Regions from separate parts of the Homo sapiens genome. Here region 1 is linked to region 2. Evidence: promoter capture Hi-C in 16 types of primary human blood cells and fetal thymus (Javierre and others, 2016). All regions are on one chromosome and are shown on one strand. The core of a region is centred on a gene start or on the middle of the fragment in contact, and the rest is flanking DNA. Distances in the headings are between cores, read along the strand shown. Region 1 holds the start of LOC107987060 (a long non-coding RNA gene). Region 2 holds the start of TMEM215 (transmembrane protein 215).

The links. The method cuts DNA at HindIII sites, captures the fragments that hold promoters and counts their contacts. A CHiCAGO score of 5 or more calls a contact.
Region 1: a contact is called between a fragment that was not itself captured here and the fragment with the promoter of TMEM215 in region 2, in 1 of 17 cell types (M2 macrophages). The highest score is 5.3, in M2 macrophages.

Annotation. Positions count from the first base shown.
Region 1 is chr9:32,842,383-32,848,440 of GRCh38, reverse strand. It overlaps LOC107987060 (a long non-coding RNA gene), which reads left to right and starts at 1,709. Exons shown (of 2, transcript XR_007061452.1): 1 at 1,709-6,058. The HindIII fragment of the contact is 999 bases long and covers 3,696-4,694 here.
Region 2 is chr9:32,780,306-32,786,375 of GRCh38, reverse strand. TMEM215 (transmembrane protein 215) reads right to left here and starts at 2,836. Exons shown (of 2, transcript NM_212558.3): 1 at 2,571-2,836; 2 at 1-2,250. The coding sequence starts at 2,192. The coding sequence ends at 1,485. It overlaps LOC105376017 (a long non-coding RNA gene), which reads left to right and starts at 3,470. Exons shown (of 7, transcript XR_929559.2): 1 at 3,470-3,733. The HindIII fragment of the contact is 4,873 bases long and covers 1,022-5,894 here.

The sequences.
Region 1 (6,058 bases), core at 2,946-5,445, 61 kb before region 2:
GATCTGCCAACTGCACACTGTGGTCCCTCAATGTTGAGGCTTGGGAGAGAGAGAGAAGACAAGCCAGCATGGGGGACTGTGATAGGGTGGCAGGAATCAAGATTAGGCAGTGTCCCCAAAGCCAAGTGAGGAAAGTATCTCCCGCAGAAGGGAGTGAACTGTGGTCAACTGTGTTAAATACCATGGCTGGCCAAGCAAGGTAAAGTTGATTCTTAAATCACCCTCTGCATGTGACAGTTGAGAGATCCCTGGTGGCCTTAACAAGAGCAGTTTCCAGGGAGTGTGGAGGAGAAAAAGCCTGCTTTGGAGTGTGTTCAGGGGACAATAGGGCAAGAAGAAGTGGAGGGAGACTGCAAGTTTGGGCAACTCTTCTCAGGAGTTTTGCTCTAAAGAGGAGTAGAGAAATGAAACTGTAGCTTGAGTAGTCAACAGACTTTTATTAAATTTAGGAGATGCAATAGCTGAAGGAAGGACCCAGTAGAAAGGAAATCATTAGTGGGCCTTGCACCATCGGTTATTTTCTTTCTCCATTGCACCCCATAACCCCAGTGTCTCCTTTGGTTCTAACTCTTTCACCTCAGTTTATAAATATGTGCAGTCTTCCTTTCTTTTAATTAAGTGAAATGTCAGGAGTTTCAGAACCAGACCATCCTGAGTTCAGAGTTGGCTTCTGCCGCTTTCTTGGCTGTGTGACTCAATCCCTTTGAGCCTCTGTATTTTCATCTGTAAAATGTGGGAGATAACCCTAATGAGTCTATTGTGAAAATTAAGTGAGATGACGATAAGAAACTTATTGCCTAGTTTTTAATAGGAGTGCCACAAATGTTCTCCTACAAAAGAGCAGAGCAGGGAGGTTTATTTAATTAAATTAATTAATTAATTTTTTTAGAGGTGATGTCTCACTCTGCTGCCCAGGCTGGAGTGCAGTGGCACAACCATAGCTTACTGCAACCTTGAACTCCTGGCTTCAAGCAATCCTCCCACCTCAGCCTCCCAATGTGCTTTATAGGAATTATAGGTGTGAGCCACCATGGCCAGCTGGTAGGTGGGTTTAATTTGATGTTCCTCATCCCAAAGTAGATTTGTTTTCTGTCCTCTTGTCTAAAGAATTTGAAAAAGTAGTATCTACTCAATGATTCCTCTCCACTTCTCATTTGCTCCTCAACCCTTTGCAATCTGCACCCGCATCACTCTATAGGAACTGTCCTCGCCAAGGCCATGACTTACACCAACAGTTACTTTTCAGTCCTCACCCTAGGTCACGTCTCTAAAAACTTGAGAAAGTTATCACTCTATTCTTTTTGTCCTTTGGCTTCTAGGACACAATGCTCTTTTATTTCTCCTCCATCTTCTCTGACTCAAGGAAGGTCTAAAACATATAGGCTCAAACCAAGGCATATGGGCAACCTGGGAAGTCTCAAAGTTTTCTGTCCTTTAAAATTGTTTTATTGCCTGGACACGGTGGCTCATGCCTGTAATCTCAGCACTTTGGGAGGCCAAGGCAGGTGGATCACGAGGTCAGGAGTTCGAGACCAATCTGGCCAATATAGTGAAACCGCATCTCTACTAAAAATACAAAAAGTTAGCCAGGTGTGGTGGTGTGCACCTGCGATCCCAGTTACTTGGGAGCCTGAGGCACGAGAATCACGGGAACCTGGGAGGCAGAGGTTGCAGTGAGCCAAGATCACGCCATTGCATTCCAGGCCCAGTGACAGTGTGAGACTCCGTCTCAAAAAACAAAACAAAACAAACAGTTTTATTTGAATGTTATCAGTATTGTGTTGTGGCTAAGAAAAAGGGCTCTAGATTTAGACTCCCTGTGTTTAAATTTCATCTCTTCCATCTTGCTCACCTATAAAATGGACATCATAATGTCTACATCATAGGAGAGTTGTGAGCATTCATTGTTAGTCTGTGTAGTATTTAGATAGCGCCTGGAGTAGAACAAGTGTTAGTGATGATGTTGATAATGACTGTGATGATGGTGGTAATGATGATGGAGAGAGGGAAGTGTGTACTGACTAGATAGGATTGAAGGCAAAAAAGCCTCCCAGCTTTCACTACCCCAGCCCTACCCCAAGCAGTTCAGCTTTGGCCCCAACCCTACAGAGTCTACTCAGGAAAACAAAAGCCAAGTAGTTAATCTGACCTGTCTTCCTAGGAAGGCAGTTTGGTGACTATGTTATTAGAGAGTATATCCTTTAGAGGTGTCATTGCTTTCCCAAGTGGGCTATCCAAGTATTCCATTCAGTCATATATGGTAAGCCCCTCTAGAGGAGTTTTTGGTAAATACATTTTTCTCTATTGATATGGTTTGGCTGTGTCCCCACACAAATCTCATCTTGAATTGTAGCTCCCATAACTGCCACATATTATGGGAGGGACTCAGCAGAATATAATTGAATCATGGGGGAGGTTTCCCCCATACTGTTCCTGTGGTAGTGAAGAAGTCTCATGAAATCTGATGGTTTTATAAGGGGAAACCCCTTTCATTTGGCTCTCATTTCTCTCTTTGCCTGCTGCCTTCCATGTAAGACATGACTTGCTTCTTCTTGCCTTCTGTCATAATTGTGAGGCCTCCCCAGCCATGTGGAACTGTGAGTCTATTAATCCTCTTTCCTTTATAAATTACCCAGTCTCAGGTATGTCTTTATTATCAGCCTGAGAACAGACTAATGCATCTATTTTATTGCATTTACATGGATATTTTACCAACTGGTGATGCCTGATGACCCAGAGAGCTGCCCTGGATGAATAGCCCCCACAGTGCAACTCAATTCTGACAATGCCATAGTTTCTTTCAATGGCTCTTCTCTGTTTGACTTCCTCTAAATGCCTTTTTACTTCTAAATATTGATGTTTACTAGAATGTCATTGTTGGCTCTTTTGTCTGCTTATCTAATTTGGTGGTGCTCTAGACAGTCCATGTTGAAGTTTCAAGTGGCCCATGTATCCCTGAAATTACATGCAAGACTGGGTATATATGTGCATTTTTCCAGGAGAGGACCCGTGTTTTCATCCATATTCTCAAAGGCAGCTCAAAAATGAAGAACCAAGCTAATCCAAGTTATTCATTTTCATAAGCCTTTGGGGTCTTTGCCAGTCCTATTCTGTAGACTGGATGAGTTAATCTCTTCCTTTTGGTGAGATGAATAACTTTCTAAATCTATATGAAATAAAAGATATCCCCCCTTTGGGTAGAAACATGTCAATACTTCCTGTGTAACCCTTTAAACCTTCTCCTGGCCATGGCAAGCCTGACTTTTATATTCAAGTAGTATACGTATGTGATTAACTGTACACATTTCTGTTTATCTAGCAGGATTATATAATTCTTGTGTGGCATAACTAAATTTTGTTCATTTTTACATCCCTCAGTGCCTAGTCCAGTGCTTGGGACATGGTAGGTGCTCTGTAAACACTGATTGGAGGCCTGACTGCATTTTATATTCCTCAATTAATGATGAAGCAATATAGCCAGATCATGCTGCATTTATAAGTATTTAGCAGACAATATTACCAGGGTAGATTATGAATACGTATAGCAAAAACGCTATTGAGACAGAAATTCCTAAGGGAAATATATAAAATCACCCTATTTCTTTCACAGAAAAAAAAATACAAAATCAGGTTTTTCCACCATTATTAGGCTCCAATAAATATTCATCCTTTATCCCTCCAGGGGATCCCAAGCTTCCTGCAAGGGAAATGAGTGCTAAATGTGCCCAGTAAATCACTCTGTTTGTTTTCACCCTGTAGACAGAATGGCGATCTTAGTTGATTTTTTTCTTCCGACAGCCTAACGATTCAAATAACTTAAGATTTTTAATCCCCAAGACTAGAGGAGGACATGGTAAAATTGTTCATCCACCGCTTCCTGTTTAGAAAAAAACTGCCCATGAGGAAGGTAATAGCCACCTCTTGGGAGCAAAAAGCCCCACAACCTCCCAAAAGGGCAAAGCCCAGCTCTCTGAACTAACAATGCTGCCACCGCTCCCAACAAGGAAATTGCAAATCACTGCAGGGTGGAAGCTGGGCCTGCTTAACGCACCCTGAGGTCCTGGTTCCCATAATAAGTATTTTAAGTTAGGGGAGGCGTCAATCTCAATGACCAAAGTGCTAGATGAGTAAAGGTTGATCCTAATGAGGTTGCAGGCAGAGCTTCCATTCCTCCAATTGACTCTCCTCTCTCTCCACTCCTAGCAGCACCCCTGACCCCATCTCAACAGTGGCCCCGGGGAAGACTGGGTTAGGGAATACACTTGACTTGGTACAAATCCACTGTGGCCCAGCAAACAGTATGCAAACCATACCCTACTTACTGTGTATGGAGGACAGAACAATCGAGAGTGCCAATGTAAAAAATGATGCTGCAGGCATGACAGTGGGCCCCCGTGTGTCCTTTTCCTTAAGGGTAATTAACTGTTCGGATTCATACCTAAAAATAGGCACGCTACTGAAACAAGTTGTTGATGACCTAAGACAAGGCCAACCTGCCTGGCTCAGAGATACCTGAGTGTGTCCATCTTTTCAGGTAAATTAACATGACTGGCATTGGGATTTCAGCTTAAAAGGCAGAGAGTTGGAGCAGTCTACAGTGTTATACAATTTGTGCGTGACTGGCAGCAGGTGGAGAGTAAATAATATCTGCAAAAGAAGAAACTGCAGGCATTTGAATCAAGTGGCAGCAAGCTTACCACTTAGGCATGTTGTTAATAAAATACGTTGGTGTGATTTGGTTAAGTCCCTCCACCCCACCACCTTATTTTTTTTTTAACTTAAATCAATTTCTTAGAGCTAAAAGGCATGCAGCTTAGCAAAAACAGCAGGAAATTGCTTTAGAATGCTTATACTTCATTTCAGGGAATTTTTTTTTTAATCTGAAGTAAATAAGCCATATAGTTCTTCCCTGCCATAACAAAACATACAATGACCCCATCTGTGATGAGGCAGAACCAGGGTTGCCTTGCCTGGGGGAAAGTTTAGAAATTTCTGAGAAAAACCCATAAATTGAAGTTGTAAGCTGTGAGGTGGAAGCCTTGCAAATGATTTGCAGTTTACAGCAGTTACTCAAAGCAGTCAGATTCTAACTGGGGGTCAAGAGAGCGTCCATGTTTTACAGATGGATAAACTGAGGCATAGAGCTTAAAGACCGGCTCTTTAGAGTTTAAAGCCATGCCATGTCACTGATAGAGACTCCTTCCTGGGAGGAAAAAGACAAAAGACCTCTCTCCAGCAGAGGCTAGTATAACCTCAGAGAAATCTATCTGAAGATATGAAAGCATCACTAACAACCAAAAAATAAAAGATCTAGAAGGCTGTGGTGGGAGGATCACTTGAAACTAGGAGTTTAATACCAGCCAGAGAAACAGAGAGAACCTGTCTCTACAAAAAATACAAAACATTAGATGGCCAAGGGTGGCAAGTGCCTGTAGTCCTATCTACTCAAGAGGCTGAGGTGGGAAGATCACTTGAGCCCAGGAGTTCAAGGTCACGGTGAGCTACAGTTGAGCCACTGCACTGTAGCCGGGATGACAGAGAGAGATACTGTCTCAAAAAAACAAAACAAACAAAAACAAACAAACAAAACTAGAATGTAGGTAGGAATCAGGATAACTGGGAAGCAAATTAACCTCGACCTGGGACTTCTTTAAATGAGTTTGCACAGCTGTCTCAATCCATGTAAATCTCTTGTTATATAAACCCACTCACTTGATCAACAGAAACAGAGGGAGTCCAGATGTTAGCGGATAGAGCTCTCATGCACCCAGCTTCCCTAGCTTGGAATACGCCAGCACTGTCTAAAATGAAGCTAAGCAAAACCCAAACAAAACCAACACCCAAACACCAAAAGCAAACCCAAACAAAATCCCAACCAAACAAGTTACAAACAACTAAGGATATTTTCTAAACCCATTGACTGACTCATGACTTTCTGGTCTCCCTGGCTCAGATTTCTGAGAGCTTTAAAAAATTGTGCCAAACAAGGAAGTACCATTGCTTAATTAGGTCTTGCCAATTATTTTGCCTGATTTTACTTTTTTTCTACCTCCCTGCT
Region 2 (6,070 bases), core at 1,587-4,086:
CAATTGCTATACTTAAGAAAGAATTGCAGAGTTGGAATTGAAATACACAAAACATATATGCCCAAATTTTTGTCCTCAATTCCCCTTTTGGGAGAAAGTGACTAAGACTATATGATCACTTAAAATGATCATTCTTTGAAGGATACAAAATACTTCTGATCTTCAAGATGAACTCTATCACCATTCCTATATATAATTCATATTTTTCTTCACCGGGGATCAAATGGCATTCTGCTTGATAGCCTTCTTATCTATTGCAGTTGAGCAAGTGAAATAGAAAGCACATTTTAGGATATCATTGTGATTTGTTGTTTTCCTCAGCAGCAAAAATGTATGAAATAAAGAGACTTTTATCATGTAATGTTCACTGATCAGGTGAGCTTAATAAAATCTAGGCTTCAGTTAAATTTAGTAGATGAGTTCTTGTTTCACTGGCATTTACAGTCTGTGAGAGGAGTTGAACAAATGTACAAATAATGACACTTCCAAAGGTTTAACCATTGCATTTCATACAAATTATGTGCAATGTTCAAGGCTAATGTGTAGACTTTATAGTTTTCAGATTTTAAAAGGTATGTAGGAATGGTAATTATCAGTACATGTCTGCCAATGTTAAAGACTTGGATATATATGTAAAATTCATTTTGTCTTGATGAAAACAAATTCCAATCTATGAAAGTATCATTTCAAATAATGTTGCACCTGGTAAGGAAATAATACATGAATGATAGTAAATGTTTAGAAAAAACCCATTTCAGATAAAGATGCAATAAATGGATTTAAACGAAGAGTTTAAGAAGTAACATAGCCATCTAAAAATGTTAACTTTTCACATAGCTGCTCACACTTATTTTACTTTATTAGAGACCATGATCTTGTCAGACAATAATGCCACAAGACTCAGTTACATAATCCAACTCTCTTTAACTACCCTTTTCCCAAAAACCATCCCATCTAAGGAGGGTTTAACTCTTGTATCTTGATTTTTTTTTCTTTCAGCAAATACCAAGTGTGATAAGCTTTTAACCAGGCAAAAATTACTTTATATAACGGATCATTAATTTTATTTTCAACTTATTCAAACATAAAGCAGCTCAGTTTCCCTGTGGTCAGCTCATGCATCATTTGATGCCTCACATCTGCAGCCCACTCTAGATTTATCTTGCTCTCAGCTGGTTCTGGATAGCACTTTTTGGGTTATTTTACAAAACATTTAACATTGTGTAAATTGTTAAGAAGCAACTGGAGTAGCTTCCTTTCCTACCCACTGCCTCTTCCAGTGTCCTTAACCCTCATCGCCCTTCCCTAAAATGTGTCCCCAACATGCCTATTTACATGACTCTCGGGTACCAGAGGTTATCACACCCATCACATACCAGGTCAATTTCTAACAGTGTGAAGGCTCTCCAAGCAGAGCAATTTGCTTCCACGGGGAGCTGGGCTTAGTCATATTCTATCAATCCAGCCACCTTTGTAGGCAGAGATTAGACGATGGTCTCGTGGTCCCACCTGCCTTGTATCTGATTGATATAACAACAGTATCTGTCATACGGGCTGTTCTGCTTGTAGGAGCAAACGATGATACTGTCCTGGGGCACAAAGAAGATGCTATCCTCAGGCTCAGGGCACTCAGATCTGTCCCTTGCTGAGCACTTGACGTCCAAGGCACTGTAGGTGAGGGAACTGCCCGAGGGGCAGTAGCCGTCCAGGTATCTGGACGTCTCCTCCTGATGCCCATTCTGGACGAGGCTCTGGCATTCTCCTTCCTCCGTGGGTGTGGGGCTGTTGATGGAGCTGGCCACGGACACCTCACCCTGGCTTTGTGGGGGAGGCTTCCCCCTGAGGCCCGCCTTCTTAGCCAGCTCATCTGAGCTCCCCTTGCCGGATTCTAGGTCTGAAGGGGTCCTCAGCAGCTCTACCACCTCCTTGTCTTTGGGTTTCCGGAAGCAGGGCAATTTGCGGACCCACAGCAGCTCGTTCTCTGGCCACTTGGTGCATCCCTCGGTTTTCCTGGCCAGGGCAATGGCTGCGATGCCTGGTAGGCAGATGGCTGGCCCGATGGCCAGGAGGGGGATGTTTCCCAAAGTCTCCCCTTTCATCCCAGAGACGGTGAACATGAAACCAAAGACGAGGAAGACACTGACCAGGGCCACCACCAGCCCAGTCCTCGGGTTAATGTCATCAGGCCGCATGTTTCACTCCATCCAGGTTGGGGGCTGCTTGCTGACCAGGGAGCAGCGTTCCTCTATTCTGTCAGAGATGAAACCACAGTGCGTTAAAAAAAAATCCAAGTCAAGCTCCCACCCATCAACTCTTGTCTTTCTCTTGCCCTTTGTCTCCGACTTGCTTCTTGACTTTCAGTCTTGATCTCTGTCTCTGTATCTCTCTTGCAATCTCTCTATCTCTCTCTCTGCGTTTCTCTTGCAATCTCTCCCTGTTTCTATTTCTACTCTTTCTCTCCGTCCCCTCTCCCTCCCTCCCTTTCTTGTGCCCTCCCTCTCTTCCTCTCACTATTGCAACCTCCGTCTCTCTCTCATATCAACACGCTCCGGCTGGGGTCAACGAGGTACCTGAGGTTTCCTGCCCTCTCCAGGAAGTAGGGAAAGAAGCCAGGCTGTCTCCTCAGAAGCCCCCACAGCAGCTGCCCCCTCGGCTCGCTCCCTTGGTTCTGGGAGGAAAGCCTGGTTTCCCCCACGGACTCTGCATCGGGGAGGTGGAACCTGGGAGAGCGGCTCTCCCAGCAGTGCCCGTCGGTCCCGGTGCTGTGCAAGCGGAGCCCGGCGCCAGCTCAGCGCGCAGAGCGCGGGGCGCGGGAGGAGGAGGGAGCACTGAGTCTGGGAAAGAGGGGACGCGGCGCGAGCCTGGCCTTGTTACATCACTGTCAGAGCAGGCTCAGAAACGCAGACAGACGCGCGGGGGCGCGAGGGGGTCAGCCCCAGAGGGAGGCCACCCGGCGGCAGGCGCTGCCCGGGGTCTCGTCGGGGCTGCTGGGAGCGGCCGGGGTTTGTGCCGCCGCCGTTCCGGAGGCTGAGCAGGGCGACCTGACCCGCTTCCGTGCCCGGGAAGGGTCTGGGGCGCGAGGCTGCCAGTGGCCGGAGTCGGAAACCAGGGTCGGTTTGCCCACGGGGCAGCCGTTGCAATATCCGAGCTCGGGCTCCCAGTCCGGGATCCGAGGAGTTAGGTGCCAGCTGGAGATGTCCCTCCGGGACCCGCACCCTTCTCCAGTTACAAATCCGGGTGACTGACGGCAGGCCCAGGGGCTCCCCGACCGCCCTTCTCTCAACCCCTCGACTCGGGGCGCGGGGGGGTGTGTGTCCCTCGGGGAGCCGGTGCCCGAGGACTGCTTTGGTCCCGGCTCTGGGCGGTGGCGGCGCGCGAAAGCGCTCTTGCAGCGGAGCGACTGCGCCGCGGGAGCGCACAGAACCAGCGCCCAGGCGGAGTGGGTTAGTGGTGAGGGGTGGGTGCCAGGCTAGTCCGGGCCTTGGGGGAGTCCCCGGAGTCCCCGTGGCTTTCCAGCTCCAGGCTCGGGAGAGGGTGACCTTGGAGCCGGGATTTCACTTCTACAGCGCTGTGGTGCCGGGGGGACAGGGAGAAGGGCTCCCTGGCCCCCAGTTCACGAGGAGAAGGGGCCTTGACCGGTCAGGACCACCACCCTACGACGCCGCTCAGCTCTGGGCGATTCTCTCCTCCCTTGCTGAAGCAGGCATTGAGAGCCTGCGTTCCTCCCGCTCTGGTAGGCAGGGGCAGATGGATTCCTCTGGCCCCGGGGGGCAAGACTGGCTTTGGCTGTGATTCTTCAACAGGGCTGCCCATTTAGGATAGAGGAGGGCGGTGGAGAACAGGTTGATGAGCGGTACATGCTTTCATGTCAAGACACTGATTTACTGGAAAGAATTTTCACATCCAGGCCTTCCCCAGTTAAACTAGCTGTATATTCCTGGGCAAGTGACTTAACCTCTCTGAGAATCAGTCGTCCTATCTGTAAAATGAGATTAATACCAAATATATGAGGAAACATTGTGAGGATTAAATAAACGTAAAGTTCCTAGCACAATGCTTGGTACATAGTCTGTGTACAAAAATTACACACACATGCACACACGTACACATGTATATGTATATATATTTGTCATCATAATTAGTGTCTTCATCATGTATGACAGGAGCCAAACAAATCATAAAGGCTGTGAGACTAAGGACTTTTTATCCACTAGGCAATGAAGAACGCTTGATGTATTTTAAGCAAAGATCAATACAAAAACATTCCAGTTTGACTGAAAGGGGCGGCAGGTGAGAGCATAGGTTGGAGCTGGTAAGTCTGGAAGCCGGGAGTCTTGTTCAGTAAGCTGAGAAGTTCAGTAAGCCGGGCAAGACATGATGTGGCCTTAACAATGTCGGGCTGGTAGAGGAGTTGGAAGGAAGCAGATCTGAGGGTATTTAAGGGTTGAGTGAAGTGTCTTGGAGCACAGTGAAGTGAGATGAAGGGAGGAGCCAAGGTCAACTCCCAACTTTCTCACTTTCAAAGGGGTGGATCAGGAAGCAGATCCTTCTCATTTTCCTCTCCATCATCTATTTTGTATCTTTTGTACTCATGACCATTAGACAGCTGCTGCACCTTTAGGCATAGAATCATTTAGGAGGGAAGAAAGGAGAAAATGCAAAGGGTAAAAGTGAGGTGCCAGTTCTTTGGCCACTTGTATGAGGACAATAATAATTTTCCTGGCAGCCCCCCCAAGTAGATAGGCATCTGCCTGTAATTGACCAGAGATGGATGAGCTTTGGGATACAAAGGTACCTGGGAAATTGTTGTTTATTTATTTACCAGATCCACTGATGGTCTGAAAAAAGGGTTTTGTTTAAAAGGAGCAGCATACTGCTCCTTTTAAATACTGGGGAAGCAGCTCGCTACGTGTGTTACAATTATTGAAAAGTTTTCCCTTCTTAAAACCGTTTCTTTTACTGACACCATTCTATCCTAGTTTTCTTCCTATCTCCCTGGTCACTTATTTGTAGGCTACTTTATAAACTCCTATTTTATTTATTTTTTATTTTAACAAACCCCTTAGATACTGATGTTCTGTGGGTTCTATTCTTGCTTCTCCCCTTTCTTGATTTCTCTTCTCTTTCTTCTCATTCTGTAATAGCCTCGAACAGCCTGAATAGGCTGATGACTCCCAAAACTCTCTCTTTAGCTTTGTCATTTTCCCTCAGCCCCAAATCTATAATATCCAACTGTCTGCTTGATATCTCTAATCTGGATGGTATGCAGACACCTCACACTTGCTAGGGACTTTAGACTTCAGGGATTTAGACTTTAGTGATTTTGATCTATGGGGATTTCAACATTAGGGATTGTGGGGTTTGGGATTGTGTCCTTTGGGATTATGTTCCAAACCCAACCTCATCATTCCTTCCATTTGCCAACTGAGAATATTTGCAATTGTTCTCTACTCCTTTCTCTCCCTAACAGCCTACGTCCAGTAAGTCACCCAAGTCATTATAGTTTTACCTCCTAAGTCCTTTGATTATCCCCTCTTATGGTGGTGACCCTAGGAAAATAACTTTACCTTCCTGTGTTTCAACTTCTTAATGAAACAAAGACTTTGAATGAGGTGCTAGGTAAGATTCATTTTAGCTCTAATGTTCCTTGGTTCTCTTGTAGTTACTTCTGCAGGGCTGAGCTGATGTCAGTGTTGTGGACGTGTTTTGACAATAGTGCTGGAAATAAAGTTGGGTCCTAAAGAAGCAAGATTGCTGAGTGGAGACCTCCTGTCACTTGTACAAACATCCAGTTCTTTTCTGATTTTTAAGCCATGCAGTTTATCTACTTAGGCATTAGATAAGACCCGGGCATAAAACCACAGGAAACTTCAATTGCTGTTTAATTATAAGCTTCATTTTCAAAGCAATTCCTTCTTAGAGGTAATTTCAGATGGTCTTTGAACAGCAGGTATACTTGCCCAAGTCAGCAGCAACAGTGGGTAGGGATTGGAGACATCACTCAGGGTCACAATACTCAGAGACAGATAAGGTGTTCTTAGTATTTAATTTCTTGCCTGTATAGTCTGGA